Regions from separate parts of the Homo sapiens genome. Here region 1 is linked to region 2. Evidence: promoter capture Hi-C in human tissues and cell types (Jung and others, 2019). All regions are on one chromosome and are shown on one strand. The core of a region is centred on a gene start or on the middle of the fragment in contact, and the rest is flanking DNA. Distances in the headings are between cores, read along the strand shown.

Region 1 (7,618 bases), core at 884-3,383, 43 kb before region 2:
ATTAAAAAAAGGATACCACAGCTGGTGAAAAGTGACATGATACCAGATAACAGATGGTAAGTGCCATGAGGGAGAGAGGTGCTGCCTCGAAGGTTGCTCACAGGTCCCTCAAGCAGGCACCATTCAACCAGAAGGCCAGGTGATGTAAGGGAGCAAGCCGAGCCACAAGCAGGGAAAGATCATTCTTAGGAGAGGGTAAGTGCAAAGACCCTGGGGCAAGTGTGTCTACCATAATTAAGAAAAAGCAAGTCAGCTTACAGAGTAAAGGGAAGGGTGATAGAAGACCACATCACAGAAGGATGCAGACACACAATCATGGGAAACTTCAGAGGCCATGAAGGACTCTGTATTTTATTATACGTAAAATATAAGACATGTAGGTTTTTTTGTTGTTTTTTGTTGGTTTGTTTTGAGACAGGGTTTTGCTTTGTTGCTTAGACTGGAGTGCAGTGGCATGATCATAGCTCACTGCTGACTCAACCTCCTGGGCTCAAGCAAGTCCTCCTGCTTCAGTCTTTCCAAGTAGCTAGGACTATAAGCACACACCACCACACCCAGATAATTTTTTATTATTATTTTTAGTAGAGATGAGATCTTGCTGTGTTGCCCAGAGTGGTCTTAAACTCCTGAGCTCAAAAAATCCTCCTGCCTTCACCTCCCAAAGTGCTGGGATTATGGGTATGAGCCACCTTACCTGGCCAAGACTTGCAGAATTTTGAGCAGAGGAGTGGTATGATCTTACAGTCTCAAAAATCACCTCAATCAAAAATGGGCAGGGGTAGAAAAGGAAACAAGTTAGAAGGTGATTGCAATAGCCCAGGTGATTATATATGAAATCTTGACCTAGAGTGGAAACAACAGGGGTATCAATCACTATATCCAGATGTGTTTTGAACACAGAGCTAATGGAATTTGATAAGGGGCTTAGAATTTGCTAATAAAATGTGAGAAAAAGAGAGAACTCAAGAGTGACTTAAGGTTGATAACCTAAGCAAGTGGAAGATTGGAGATGTCGTTTACTGAGATGACAAGGACTTACGGGGAGGGTTTAGGGGGCAGGATTAGGAGTGTTCTACTGAGTTGCCTTTGGTTCAATCAACTGTGGCAAGGATGTGGAGGGGCCCAATAACATAAGCATTGCAACAAGAGTTCAAATGTTCAGTGAAGCTGCAGGTCAAGGAGCAGTGGTGGGCAGGTATGTGCACCATAGAGGTTAAAACACACTTGGATGTCGAAGACCAAAACATTAAGACAACAGGATTCTCTTTTGAGAATTTGAAATGAGGTGTTACTAAAAGCCTGGAGTCAAATTTGCCACAGATAATCTACAATTTCTAATGCATCACATCTCCTTGAAGCTTAAAGAAGTATGAATTCAAGGATAAAATAAGACAAATTGGGTATCTCATAGCATAGAGCCAAATTCACAAACATAGTTATTGAATGCATCATTCTCTTTTGAATGAATTTGTATGGCATCATATTTAAACAGCTTATTTCTCTTTCTTTACTGAATCATAAGATAATGATATTATAGACTTTAGTGATATTTGTTTAAAAATACAAGCTAGTTATTTGAAAAAAATGAATATAAGCCTTACTCAAACTTGAAACTTTGACCTAAATGATGAAACTATTTTTGCTATTCTGTAGAAATTTTAAAAATCTTGGCATTCCCTCATCTTCAGTGATATGGGCAATAGTAACTTTTGCATCCTTATAGAGGAGAATAAACCATTTCATCATTTCAGAATGGTTTTAAATTTTAAAGGCAATAATAGAATCAATAACTATTATAATTTATAAGTTAAAAAAGAAATAGATCTAATACCAATTAAATATCTAATAGTTATTTAGCATTTACTATGGAACAGATGCTAAATATTAAACATACATCATGTCCCTTTTAATCTTTATTACACCTGAATTCTTGATACAAGATAACGCAGTTTAAACTACTAGAGCACAATAAAACATTAACTGAGACACAATATATATTAAAAGTATTAAAGTTAATCAAACTTATGTTGGAGCATTAGGTGATCCTGGACATGTTAAGCAACTCCACAAGCCTCAACTTCTCATTGAAAATAGGGATTATGTAAAAGTGCTCCTATTTCTTCACATCCTCTCCAGCACCTGTTGTTTCCTGACTTTTTAATGATCGCCATTCTAACTGGTGTGAGATGGTATCTCATTGTGGTTTTGATTTGCATCTCTCTGACGGCCAGTGATGATGAGCATTTTTTCATGTGTCTTTTGGCTGCATAAATGCCTTCCTTTCAGAAGTGTCTGTTCATAACCTTCGCCCACTTGTTGATGGAGTTGTTTGTTTTTTCTTGTAAATTTGTTTGAGTTCATTGTAGATTCTGGATATTAGCCCTTCATTACATGAGTAGATTGCAAAAATTTTCTCCCATTTTGTAGGTTGCCTCTTCACTCTGATGGTAGTTTGTTGGTGGTTCTGTAAACTAGTTCAACCATTGTGGAAGTCAGTGTGGCGATTCCTCAGGGATCTAGAACTAGAAATACCATTTGACTCAGCCATCCCATTATTGGGTATATACCCAAAGGATTATAAAGCATGCTGCTATAAAGACACATGCACATGTATGTTTATTGCGGCACTATTCACAATAGCAAAGACTTGGAACCAACCCAAATGTCCAACAATGATAGACTGGATTAAGAAAATGTGGCACATATACACCATGGAATACTATGCAGCCATAAAAAAGGATGAGTTCATGTCCCTTGTAGGGACATGGATGAAGCTGGAAACCATCATTCTCAGCAAACTATCACAAGGACAAAAAACCAAACACCACATGTTCTCACTCATAGGTGGGAATTGAACAATGAGAACACATGGACACAGGAAGGGGAACATCACACACTGGGTCCTGTTGTGGGGTGGGGGGAAGGGGGAGGGATAACGTTAGGAGATATACCTAATGTTAAATGACGAGTTAATGGGTGCAGCACACCAACATGGCACATGTATATATATGTAACAAACTTGCATGTTGTGCACATGTACCCTAAAACTTAAAGTATAATAAAAAAGAAAAAAGAAAATAGGGATTATGATAGTAGCTACCAGAGGGGGCAACTGAGAATGCTATGAGGTGATGCATGTAGAGTACTCAGCACAGTACTGGCAAGAAGGAAGGGCTTAATAACTGTAAGGCTGAGTCCATTTGGGCCTCTATAACAAAACATCATAAACTGGATGGCTTATAAACAACAGAAATTTATTGCTCATCTCTGGAGGCTGAGAAGTCCAAGATCAAGGCACTGGCAAGTTCAGCATCTGGTGAGGGCCCATTTCATGGTCCATAGACAGCAATCTTTTAGCTGTGTTCTCACATGATGAAAAGATAAATGACTACCTGGGGGTCTGTTTTGTAAAAGCACTACTCCTATTTGTGATTCATGACTTCATCACCTCCCAAAGGCCCCATCTCCTAATACCAAATCCTTGGGGGTTAGGATTTCCACATTTAAATTTGGAGCGGGGGGTGCATAAATATTCCAGCCACTGCAGAGACACTATCATCACCACCAACACTATCATCATCACTTTATCATCTCCACCAGCACCTTCATCGTTATTATAAAGCCTATAAAAGAAAACATTATTATTTTATTTTACTAATAAGGAAACTAACAGAGAAATATTAAACAAATCACCCAAAGCCACCCAGCTTACAAATGGCAAAGTCAGCCTTTAAACTAAAACATATGAAACCTCAAAGACTGTATAATTCAAATTGCGTGACTCCAGCATACACAGTGGTTAGGCTACAATTTTATCCCATGTTGCCTACATCATGATGCTTTAGTTTTATTTCAAAATTTAAGCTTGTTATAAAACTTCTGTAAAATAGCATCTGATTCTTGTGAGAATCCATACCTATGCCGATTATTCAGATGAAGAAAATGAAGCTAAGCTAACCCAAATAGGTTAACCAATTGCTGATAAATCTTGGCAAGAGACAAGAAGGGGTTAGAACTCATGTATATGAAACTCAGGGGCATGACACTGCACACAGGGTGGGAAGTTATATTTGAATCAAATCAGCTCTGCTAATTCCTTAGGGATTTTGCACACAACATTATTTTCAAACTCTCAAATAAAAAAGGGAATGAAAGGATTACTATAGAACAAAAACATCAACCCGAGATATGTTGCATTTAAAAGCAATAAGCATGGCTTTCAAGGAACTCGGTAACACGAGGGACTCTGAGCCCAGGAGACAGTTTGTAGAAACAAAATTGCTTCTGAGAAAAACCTGTTTTAAATTCAGTGTTGCAGAATAAATGCATAGATATTAAAGACTTAATTGCTAGTTTAGGAGCAGGTCTACCCCCTAGACTGTAAATTCTTTGAGGGCAAGAGCTAAATTCAACTTCTATATTCTCAGGTCTAGCAAAAAGCTTGACTTTTAGTACCTATTTAGTAGTTGAGTCAATGAGTTAATGTTAATTTTTACATCGTATATTGCTAGGCTATATCTTGGGTCAGTGTAAAGCACACATCTGGGGTCAAACTGTCAGAGTTGGATTCCCATCACCATCATTTAGAGGGACCTGAATTTTGGGGAGCATGAGCACTTAGCACAGGATGTTATAAGGGGAACACACAGTTCAGATATGATAGCATACTCTACCCACAACCCAAGGAAGGCAAAATGCCCTTAAAGCTAGAGTATTTACAAAGGGTTAAATTTAAATTATTTTCTTCTCTCACTATGCCTTTCCATCTGTTGTAAAAGCCTCTTTAAGTCAGGCAGAGCTACAGAATACATATACACATACTATCTGCTAAGAGGCAATCATTTCAACAACACTGCTCAGTTTTTTTTAGACTGAATTAGAACCCCAATTTGAATAAAACAACCCCCACATCATTTTCAAATTCATATTTTTTTCTTACTGTAATTAAATATGTATCTGTAGCTGACAATGATTTCTCCCTATGCATATTTAAACATAGTTTCTCTTCCCACTATAACTGGATTATATAACCAGATACACTTCTGCCCACTTGAGGAATTATATACGGGGAAATGAGAATATGGGACCCAGATTCTGAGATGCTTGTCTATCTTTAGCCTAAGGGTACACGACACACTGCAAGTGAACATTTTACTATTATACACATTTCTCCTTTTGCTTTCCCTGTCCACTTTATGAGTCAGAAGTAACCAGAGCCAGAAAGAGATGGATCGAATCAGGGACTGCTGTCAGCTAATGCCTTCCCCAATTACTGCAGCATCACAGAATTGCATAAAAGCATACGTTGAACATTCATGCCATCACCTGGCAAAACCGGCTGATGGCCAGTAATCTTATTTATTATTAGTCTACGTTTCTGGGTAGCTAGCATCTCCCCAGGAGGTACAAAACCCATCTTTGCGTACTCTCTTTAGTTGGACTATGCCACTTTTCATTGGTAACCAATACAAAAAAATGATTTTCTTCTTGGTAAACAAATTAACTCTCTGAAATGTATTAATCAAGAGAGAACACAAGCTCAAACAAATTTGCATCTGAACTGACATTGGTAGGATGTTCCCTGTTTTAAGATCTCAAAGTAAGGATTTAGTAATGAATAGCAACAAGATGTACTGTGGTAGACAAGAAAATGTCCTCCCAGAGATATCTACGTCCTTGGCTTATAAAATCTCCATGTCCTCACAAAACTCAGCAAAGTTCAACATTGAGATAATCTACAAATTAGTTACAAACCTGGACTGACTCAGGAAAATAAATGGTGGTTTCAATTAGATTTTCATCTTGTTCATTGGTTGTTTCCCACTAGGTTATAAGAAGCAGAATTAAGAAGAGAAATAATTCAGTTATAAAATCAGTCATAACTGGCCGGGCACGGTGGCTCATGCCTGTAATCCAGCACTTTGGGAGGCCGAGGCGGGTTGGATGGCCTGAGGTCAGGAATTCAAGACCAGCCTGGCCAACATAGTGAAACCCCCGTATCTACTAAAAATAGGAAAATTTAGCTGGGTGTGGTGGCGGGCGCCTGTAATCCCAGCTACTCGGGAGGCTAAGGCAGGAGAATTGCTTGAACCTGGGAGGCGGAGATTACAGTGAGTCAAGATCGCACCATTGCACTCCAGCCTGGGCAACAAGAGTGAAATTTCACCTTAAAAAAAAAATTATAACTAATACATATCTCAGAGCCTGAAGTTAGGTCCTTAGAACAGTAAGATTATTTATTTTCTTTAAAAAAAGAAAAAGAAAGAAATGAAGGAAGGAAGAAGAGAAGAAGGGAGGGACGGAAAGAAGGATGGAAGGAGGAAGGGAGGGAGAAATGGGGGAAGGCAGGTGAGCATTTTGGTAATTCAACTCCCTGTGACATCATTCACTCAAACTATTCAGCATAAGCAAAGATTAAGTGGAAGATGATTTCCTTGAACTTGCTTCTAATTGCCTCAGACAGGGACCTACATGTTTCTTCTAACATCAGTTTTACATGACCTCAAGTCCCAAAGAGACACCATATTCCTCCTCCTTTTCTCCATGAAGCCATCTCCAATTGCTCTCCCCTGATTGCCTTTCTGTAGCCAAAAAAAAAAAAAAAAAAAAAGAGTAAAACTTCTCTCAGTAAGCTAGTAAAGCTGTAGTTACTAGGCAACCCTCAATATATATTAAAATAACTTGAAGTTCCTCAGCAAGAGGAAGGAATATTTAACAGCCCATTAAATGTTGAATTTTTAAAGCACACCTGAACCAAAGTTAGCAAGAAAAGAGATCTCCTGCCATTTCTGGAATTCTTGGAATTCCTCTTCTGTCTGAAAACTGAAGCATGACCTTGGACTCCTACAAACTCTTAACATATTTTGACAAGTGGAAAAGGCAAATTCTCACGCTTAGTACATATAGTGCTGGGAGGATGAGGGCTTTGCAGAATTATTCAGAATAATGAAAGAGGAGAAAAATGTCAAGTTGGCATCTGTCAAACCAGAAGATGTGACATCCCAGGGGAGACTCCAAAAGGAGCCCTGTATTCAGAGCCACATGTCCCTTAACTGGAGCAGTGATGGCTTAGGAGGTACCAACGACTTTGTCAAGAAATCAGAATCCAAAACCACTTCGGACTTCCCAGCTATTCCCTTGAATTGCATCCTGCAGTGCACAATGAGTACAAAAAGTAGGGTGCAGCTATTGAATCCCTTCAGAATAAGTAATCTGAATCTCAAAATTCCAGATGGGAGGTAATTCCAAGGTCACCAAAACCACACAAATTTCTCTCTGATAATCTGTCCTAATTCAAAAAAACTTTACAAAATAAAGGCCCACAGCCCCTTCCTCTGCTAAAATTTAATAATTCTCAGCACCTAGAAAACTGTTCTCGTATTTATTCATTTATTCAAAATTCTTCTCCTGAAAAATAATTGTGTTTTCTTTTTTACCCTATTCTGCAGAAGACAAAGGATAGTCAACATCAGCTGTCTAAAATCCCTTCATATATTTGAAAACTATTAATTAGCCAATGCACAGCCCACTCTTCTTCAACTTTAATAATCTCACGTTTTAAAAATCTTCCTTTGACAGTCTTATTCTCTAGTCCTTTAGTGACACACTTCTGAATTAC
Region 2 (7,483 bases), core at 1,846-4,345:
CAGAATGCGTTCCCTTCTCCTCTTTCTCCAAATCTGAAGAAGCATTTATTCCTTGGCACCAGGAACAGCTGCTTACCATGAAATGTTTTTGTATTTAATTATAAACCGTCCCAAACATGGTCTGGATTCCATTAATAAATGCTGTTGTATTAGTTCCTAAAGGTTATAAATGGCAAGACCATCCATGCACTATATAGTTCAGCACATATTTCAACATGAACTTACCAAGTGTCTACTCTGTGCTAGACAAAATAAATGCCCTACCTCTCTTTGAGACTGGCACATATTCCTAGAAGATACATGTCGCATGCTGTTCTAGACTATATGTAGCCTAGATTAATACCGCTAACATTCCTTACTGTGGACATAGGGTCCCCATGCCAATTCCGTACAGCATCCTTCACCAATATTTGCAGCCTCCATTAAAACTTTGGTTTGCACTGTGTTCTGGCAACTATGTAATCAGCCTCTTTTGTAAATCATACCATAAGAATATTTTAAAAATTAACTGGTGAGAAAACCAATGCTAACAAATAAGACCAGATTTACTTGATCATATTTTTGACCTTTTCTCTCCATGAGCAATAACCATAATTCAATAGATATTCTGAAGTCTGAACGTGAACACAGACAAAAAGAATAAATCTTGAGAAAGTATACTGCTCATTAGCATCCAAAATGCTGTAAAACATAAAACAAATACAAACTAAATATTTCTGTTCCTTCTGCTTCAAATATCTGTCCATAAATGTTGGCACACACATAGGGCTATGTTGTGTCAATTGTAATAATCTAGAAAAAATAATCTCAGTTACCACAAACAAGAAAGTGATGGTAACCAGTTTTTCAAATAAATTACCATGTGTCACAATTTGGCATAAACTCTGATCCTTATGAATAATTCATATTTTGTGCATTAATAATGCATGTCCTCTTCCCATTGGAATGCTCCCTAACACAGAATGGATGTCTCATACCAATTCCTTCCATTGACATGATGGAGTAAAGCTAAATTAGAATGCTGGGTTTTTTTTTTTTTTAACTTAACTCCCCTTAAAATTGTAACACTTGGCCAGCCTATAAGCATACCAAAAATAGAAAGTTCCCATTATTGTTTGCCCCTTACATGGGAGTCACTCAGTAAAGTACCCCCAACAATGGGTGCTCTTGAAGATGAGAATATTTGCATAGCAGAAAAGAAAACCAAGGAAACTTTGGCAGAGCTGATGGAAATGGTGAATTCTGTTACATTTCTCCCTAATTACATATGTATATATTCACAATAACACAGGACATAATCGCTAAAACATGGTCACCAGCAGGGGAGAAAAAGAAAAGAAAAAGACCAAAACGAATTAGGCAAGAGTTTTATAATAATTGCGGATGTTCCTCCCCACAGGGCTTCCCTCCCTAGCTGAGTTTACTACTGTGAAATTTCTTTTCAGTTTTCAGTAAAAGTATCTGGCACATTAAAACAGTCCAAAGACCAAGTAAGAGAAAGATGCCAAATGACACATATTTCTAAAGAAAGCTATTCAATTTACCACTCATTATCAATGGCGGCATTCCACACGATTACTGACATTATACTTATTTCAGGCATTACACCAAAGGATATTTTCTCCCCCCGCCCCCGCCACCTCTCCACCCCCACTTTTCACCCCTTATGTCCAAACGCACAGGATCAACTAAAACAGCGACAACACTTGATAGGAGGCAAAGAGAAATGAGGGACCTAGTTTGAAATTTTTAGGAAATAAAAAAATCGTTCCAGTATCTTCCCTCTCCCTCAAGAATTCTTCCACCATCATTCAGTCCCAAGGAGAGGAAGGGTAGGTTCTCTTTTGAAGCCTCCTCCAGCGAAGAGCCAAGAGAGAAAGGGGCGAAAGAGAGGGAGTTTTAAGGAAGGAGCTAGCCTGTGTCAACATCTGTCCCAAGTGCCCTAAGATTCATTCATTCTTCCTTTCAGGACATATGTAGGGAGCACTTGCGCTATGCCAGGTATCAGGTTCCACGTAAATAACCCTTCCGTGGACCTCCAGGGTGTATTCCAGCAACAGAAATCCACCACCCCGGCTTCGAACCACGGAAAATCCAGATTCAAGTATCTACCCAAGTTGGCCCCGACCAGAGGCCAGCCCGCACCGCCTTTGACACGACACCTGGGACAGAGGTGGGGGGATCCAAAGACACCTTACGCTTGGCAGAAATCTCTCCCTGGGGTCAGAGGGTTCGTGACCTCGTTCACACCGAGTATGCGTGTCCTCTTTCTCAACCAGCCGATCCATCCCCCGGAAAAGTTAAGTTGGCGGCGAGTGGGAAAAGAGGGGAACCGGGGGCATCCGGCAGGCACCCCCGCCCGGGCTTCTCAGCTCCAACTTCCATGGCTACCGAGAAATATTTATTTCGAGTAGATGGGCTCCAGGGGCTACTGAAGCCCAACACGCGGCCACCATCAGAAAGCCAAGTCATCCAAGAGATAAAGATAGATCCATTACATACCTAGACGCTGGCCTTACAGTGACAGCCCCGGAGACGCGGGTTTCGGCTGAGAAAGCCACCGCGCAATTCTCCGGCGCGCGGCCGGGGACTCTCCGTCCACCCTCCAGGGATGCTGGCTCAAGAGAGAGACAATCGAACCGGCGAACAGCAACACGGAGAGGATCGATACTCACCCCGAGGCGTCTGCTCCGGATCCTCACGTACCCTTGCTTCACTATGTCATTAAAATTGGAAGCCATCCCAGACAGCCGGTGACCCCCCCTTTACCCAAGAGCGCGCACCCGAAGTGGCTCTGGGGAGGGTGGAGGGCAGGGTCAAGACAAGCAGTCGGTGGGAGAAAGTTGGAGAGGTGAAGCTGCTTCGGCGGCGCTGGGCGAGGCTTTAGAAGGCGCACATCACTTTCTCTGTCCCCCCAACCCTGACAGTGGGCGGCCGGCTTGCAGCCACTTTCGGGGAGCGCAGAGCGCGGCGCGGGGAGGCGAGGCTGGAGCGCCGGCGTCAGCTGACTCCGCGGCCGGCCTGCCAGGAGGAGGAGCGGCGGCGGCTGAGGGATCCAGCCCTGCCTCCTCCCGGCCGAGAAGGAGGAGAAGAAGGAGGAGGAGGAGGAGGAAGGAGGAGGAGGAAAGAGGAGGAAGGGGTGGGGGGCTAAGAGGAGGAGCCGCGCGAGTCCCAGCACTGGGCTGCGGCCACCCGTGAGCAGCCGCCCTGGAACGCTCCCCGCGCCTCCCACCCACCTTTCCCTCCCCGCTTCCCCTTCCGATCCCTCCCCTCCTGGCGGACCCGGAGCGTGCCCCCGCCACCCCCGCACCTCGCCCACAGCCTACTGAGATAGCGCTCGCTCTCCTCGCTCCAATGACTTATTTTAGGAGGAGAGGAAATTTCACTTTTTTCCAGCCGCCGCCCACCCCGCCTCCCCCTTCAGCCCCTGCCCTTTCCCCGAGAAGGGCCGATTTTGCGTGTGTGTCTGGGGAGATGGTGTTGCCGCGGCTCGCCTTGACCTTGGCATCTGAGGAGAGGGATATTGTCACCGCTTAAGCCAAATGCTTCCTTGGGTTTCCTTGTGTCAGGGACCTAGCCCTCGCTGGTATCATTTGCCACAGTTTCCCTGTTTCAGCCTCTTTCCCGCCGGAATGTGTTTCCCAGGGGGCTGAGACTTGGCCTCATCACTGTCTGTCCCCAAAGCCTGACCCCAGAGCAAGTGCTCAGTAAATCCTTGTGGTTATCAAGATGGCCACCTAGGTGCCAGGCACTCTCCAAGCCTTTTGCATGGATTGACTCATTCAAACTCCCCTGCACTTTTTGAGGTAGGTGCCCTGTTAATGTATACACCAGGCCCATATTTAATTAAGCCTCCTTAGCCTGGCAATAGAGCTCTCATTGCCATTATGAGATACTGCCTATACAATAAGATGAAGAAGGGGACTGAATTTCACACTCACCTGCCCCTGACTGCATTACCTCCCTAAAGCATACTTGATTGATAATTGCTAACACACATTGAGCACCAGTGTGCTGGGCATTGTGCTAATCTTGTTAAGGGAATAATGAATTAGGCACCAGCATCCACATTTTACAGACTTGCTAAGGTCTCACAGCTGGCCACTATCAGAGCTAGGATTGAAGGGAGGTGTGTGTAGTGCCCAGCTCTGCTCCTAAACATTCTCCTATTCCTCTTCTGAAGAGAGGATCTCACAGAAAGAGAGGTTACTAGTTGATTTCCAAGGAAGATCTTTCTAATCATTTGCACTATTCACAAAGGCAAAGATAATCATCAGAAATTAGACAAAAATTCTTACTCACTGGGAAGCGACAAAGCTAAAGCTAGAGATCACTGCTCAGAGCCATTGAGAAGAGGATTCAGTTAGTAGTGGATTGTTTGACCTGATGACATCCACAGGTCTTTCAACTCTAAGACGATATGAATCTTCCCATTCTCACTGGGAACATTAGCTTTTAGTCACCTTGGCTTGATGAGTTTCAGTTAAAGAACAGAAACCTCCAAGAATGTGTCATAGGAGAACCGAGACTAAATGGGGACAATCAAAAAGGAGATATTCTGGCAGGGAGAACTATTTTTGCTACATAGTAAACCATCTGTCTTCATGTTGCCATTCTATGGAAAATGATGTTTTAATTTTAAATCTCTCACCAAAAGAGATGAAATGGTAAAATCATTTGGAGAGCTCCTTTTGAAGGATTGGAACTTAAAAAAAAAAATGCTGCCCATGGTTGCTGTAAAATAGAGGTGTTCATGGAAGGCATTTATCTAACACATCATTTATAGACCAAGTCCACAGTATTATAGAAACAAAAAATGAAGAAATTAAGGCATAAGGAGCTTGAAATGAAGGGCCCACAATAACGGAAATAATTACTGACAAAAACTGAAGGCGAGAAATCCATCCCTTGATAGTTAATGCTGACTATAATCAACATCCATAGATAATTTAACTGGAGCTGAGGAAACTAGAATCAAACCAGAAAATATCAAACTAGACGTGAAGGAACAAATGATTTCTTTTTTAAATTGCAAGACTGAATCCAATATATGGTTTTGTTTGGTGAAATCCAATTGACATACATGCAAAACGTACAGACTGTGATATACTATTCATAGGACATTTACACTTGTCCAAATTGTGCAATACAAGCCCTGGCAGCAAGAGCAAAGAGACTGGGCACAGTGGCTTACGCCTGTAATCCCTGTAATTTTTTGGGAGGCCGAGGTGGGTGGATCACCTGAGGTTGGGAGTTCGAGACCAGCCTGACCAACATGGAGAAACCCCGTTTCTACCAAAAATACAAAATTAGCTATGTGTGGTGGTGCGTGCCTGTAATCCCAGCTACCTGGAAGGCTGAAGCAGGAGAATCACTTGAACCTGGGAGGTGGAGGTGAGCCAAGATTGCACCATTGCACTTCAGCCTGGGCAACAAGATCGAAACTCTGTCTCAAAAAAAAAAAAAAAAAAAAAAAACATTAAAAAAAGAAAAAGAAATGGAAAAGAACCATTCACAGAGGTAGGCAATGTAAGGGGTGCTTATAGAGTTCTACAGTGCACAACTTGCCTAACCATATGCTGCCGAACAAATATACTATCACACATGATTTAGTTTTACTGGAAATGTCTGACAAGAAAAAATACTATTTCGTTCCGTGTTTTGAACTCAATTTTTGAATATTTAGAGCTTCTTATTTGTAGTATGCATTTCTGTTTGTTTCCTCAGCATCCAGAGTTTGTTCTTCCCATAGTAGTCACCATTTTCACTGAGTGTACTCACCCCTGTTTCCAGCTCACGTGTGCAGCCCTGTCCATGGCCTTTCTTTGGACAACTAGTGGTTGGTGATTGGTTCAGATATGGGCACATGACCTAAGCTGGCCAATTAATAATGAATTGGGTTACTTTTACTGAATACTGGGAGGAAGACTCACACTCCAGCTGAAATGGAATCTGGATGGAAGAGGCCCAGGAGCTGCTGGCACAAATGGTGAAACCCCAGGGGAGGGCTTATCGAAGAGTGAAGGCCACGCTAAAGGAGCAGAACCAAGACATAAAGAGAAGCAAACCAGATCCCGACGATCTGATTTGAACCCCTCTTCCAGCACCCCAGGAAGTTATTTAAGTAGATTTGAAGATTTTGTAACAATTAGACCCCAAAATATAATGATTTAAGATGCATAAAAGTTTATTTATTTTTCATGTAACAGTTTATCCTGGGCAAGTAGGACACTTAGTCCTATAAGGATGCCCAGGGATCCAAGCTTGTGGTTCAACTCTGGCACCTCAGGACACGGTTTTTCATCCTTGAGTCTAGTCATTGTCTGATACAGTTTTTCTGTGTCCCTACCCAAATCTCACCTTGAATTATAATAATCCCCACGTGTCAAGGGTGGGGCAAGGTGGAGATAATTGAATCGTGGCAGTGGTTTCCCCCATTCTATTCTTGTGGTAGCAAGTAAGTTTCATGAGATCTGATGGTTTTGTAAAGGCAGGAGTTCCCCTACACAAGCTCTCTTGCCTGCTGCCATGTAAGACATAACTTAGTTTCTCCTTTGTCTTCTGCCATGACTGTGAGGCCTCCCCAGACATGTGGAACTGTGAGTCTATTAAACCTCTTTCCTTTATAAATTATCCAGTCTCAGGTATGTCTTTATTAGTAGCATGAAAACAAAGCAACACCCTCTCATTTCCCAGGAAGTGGGAAGAAAACATGGAGGGAAAATAACCTTCTAATAAAAATATGATCCAGATGTGTCAAACATCTCTTTTTCTTGCATCGCGTGGACCAGTGTTTTGTCACATGGCCACAGCTGGCTCCACAGGAAAATGGAGAATGAAGTTTTCATCTGGGCATGGTCTGTTACTGAAAGAACAAAATGAATCCATAATGGGCAGGTCCATTAGCACGCTCTACCTCACCAGTGCCACTCCTAGACTATTTAATTGCACAAGCTAAAAAATTCCCATTTTCGCTTAAACCAGCCCAAACTAAGATATTCTGTCACTTACCACTAAAGGAGTCCAGCCTAAGGCACCATACTGTGACTTGAAGCCCAAAGAATCGCAACTAAATTGGGTACAGATACATGTGTAAGGCTCAGATGACTTGAGAAAATTCCAAAATTTTCTGTGGCATTTCCATAACGCTATGGACCAACAGAAGTAAAAGCAACCGCAGCCAACTGATCCACCTCTGTTGTTTGGGAATTGCTACACCAGTCCCAACAATGAGTGATTCTCGTGGCGTGAGTGCTGAGTGCAGCCCCAGTCACTCTCACCACAGGCTGGACAGCTGATCAAGGCTGGGCATTCTGCGTGCCTCACCTGGCATTGGCACAGGGATGAGCATGTGACCTAGAAGAGCCAATCAAAGTCTTCCCTACAGTAAACAGATGAAAACATGAGGGCCCTACTCCTAACAGCTTTCAGCTAGCCCTGACCATCTTGCCTCCAAAATGAGAGACTGGCTGAGAATAAAGTG

What was found. The method cuts DNA at HindIII sites, captures the fragments that hold promoters and counts their contacts. A contact is called where the count stands out against the background at its distance.
Region 1: a contact is called between a fragment that was not itself captured here and the fragment with the promoter of DOK5 in region 2, in 1 of the 25 tissues and cell types used here (H1 embryonic stem cells).

The regions. Positions count from the first base shown.
Region 1 is chr20:54,513,579-54,521,196 of GRCh38, reverse strand. All of the region lies in intron 1 of DOK5 (docking protein 5), which reads right to left. Among named protein-coding and RNA genes, the nearest start is that of DOK5, 42 kb to the right of the region's middle. The HindIII fragment of the contact is 4,039 bases long and covers 114-4,152 here.
Region 2 is chr20:54,471,205-54,478,687 of GRCh38, reverse strand. It overlaps DOK5 (docking protein 5), which reads right to left and starts at 3,095. Exons shown (of 8, transcript NM_018431.5): 1 at 2,676-3,095. The coding sequence starts at 2,741. The HindIII fragment of the contact is 11,986 bases long and covers 1-7,338 here.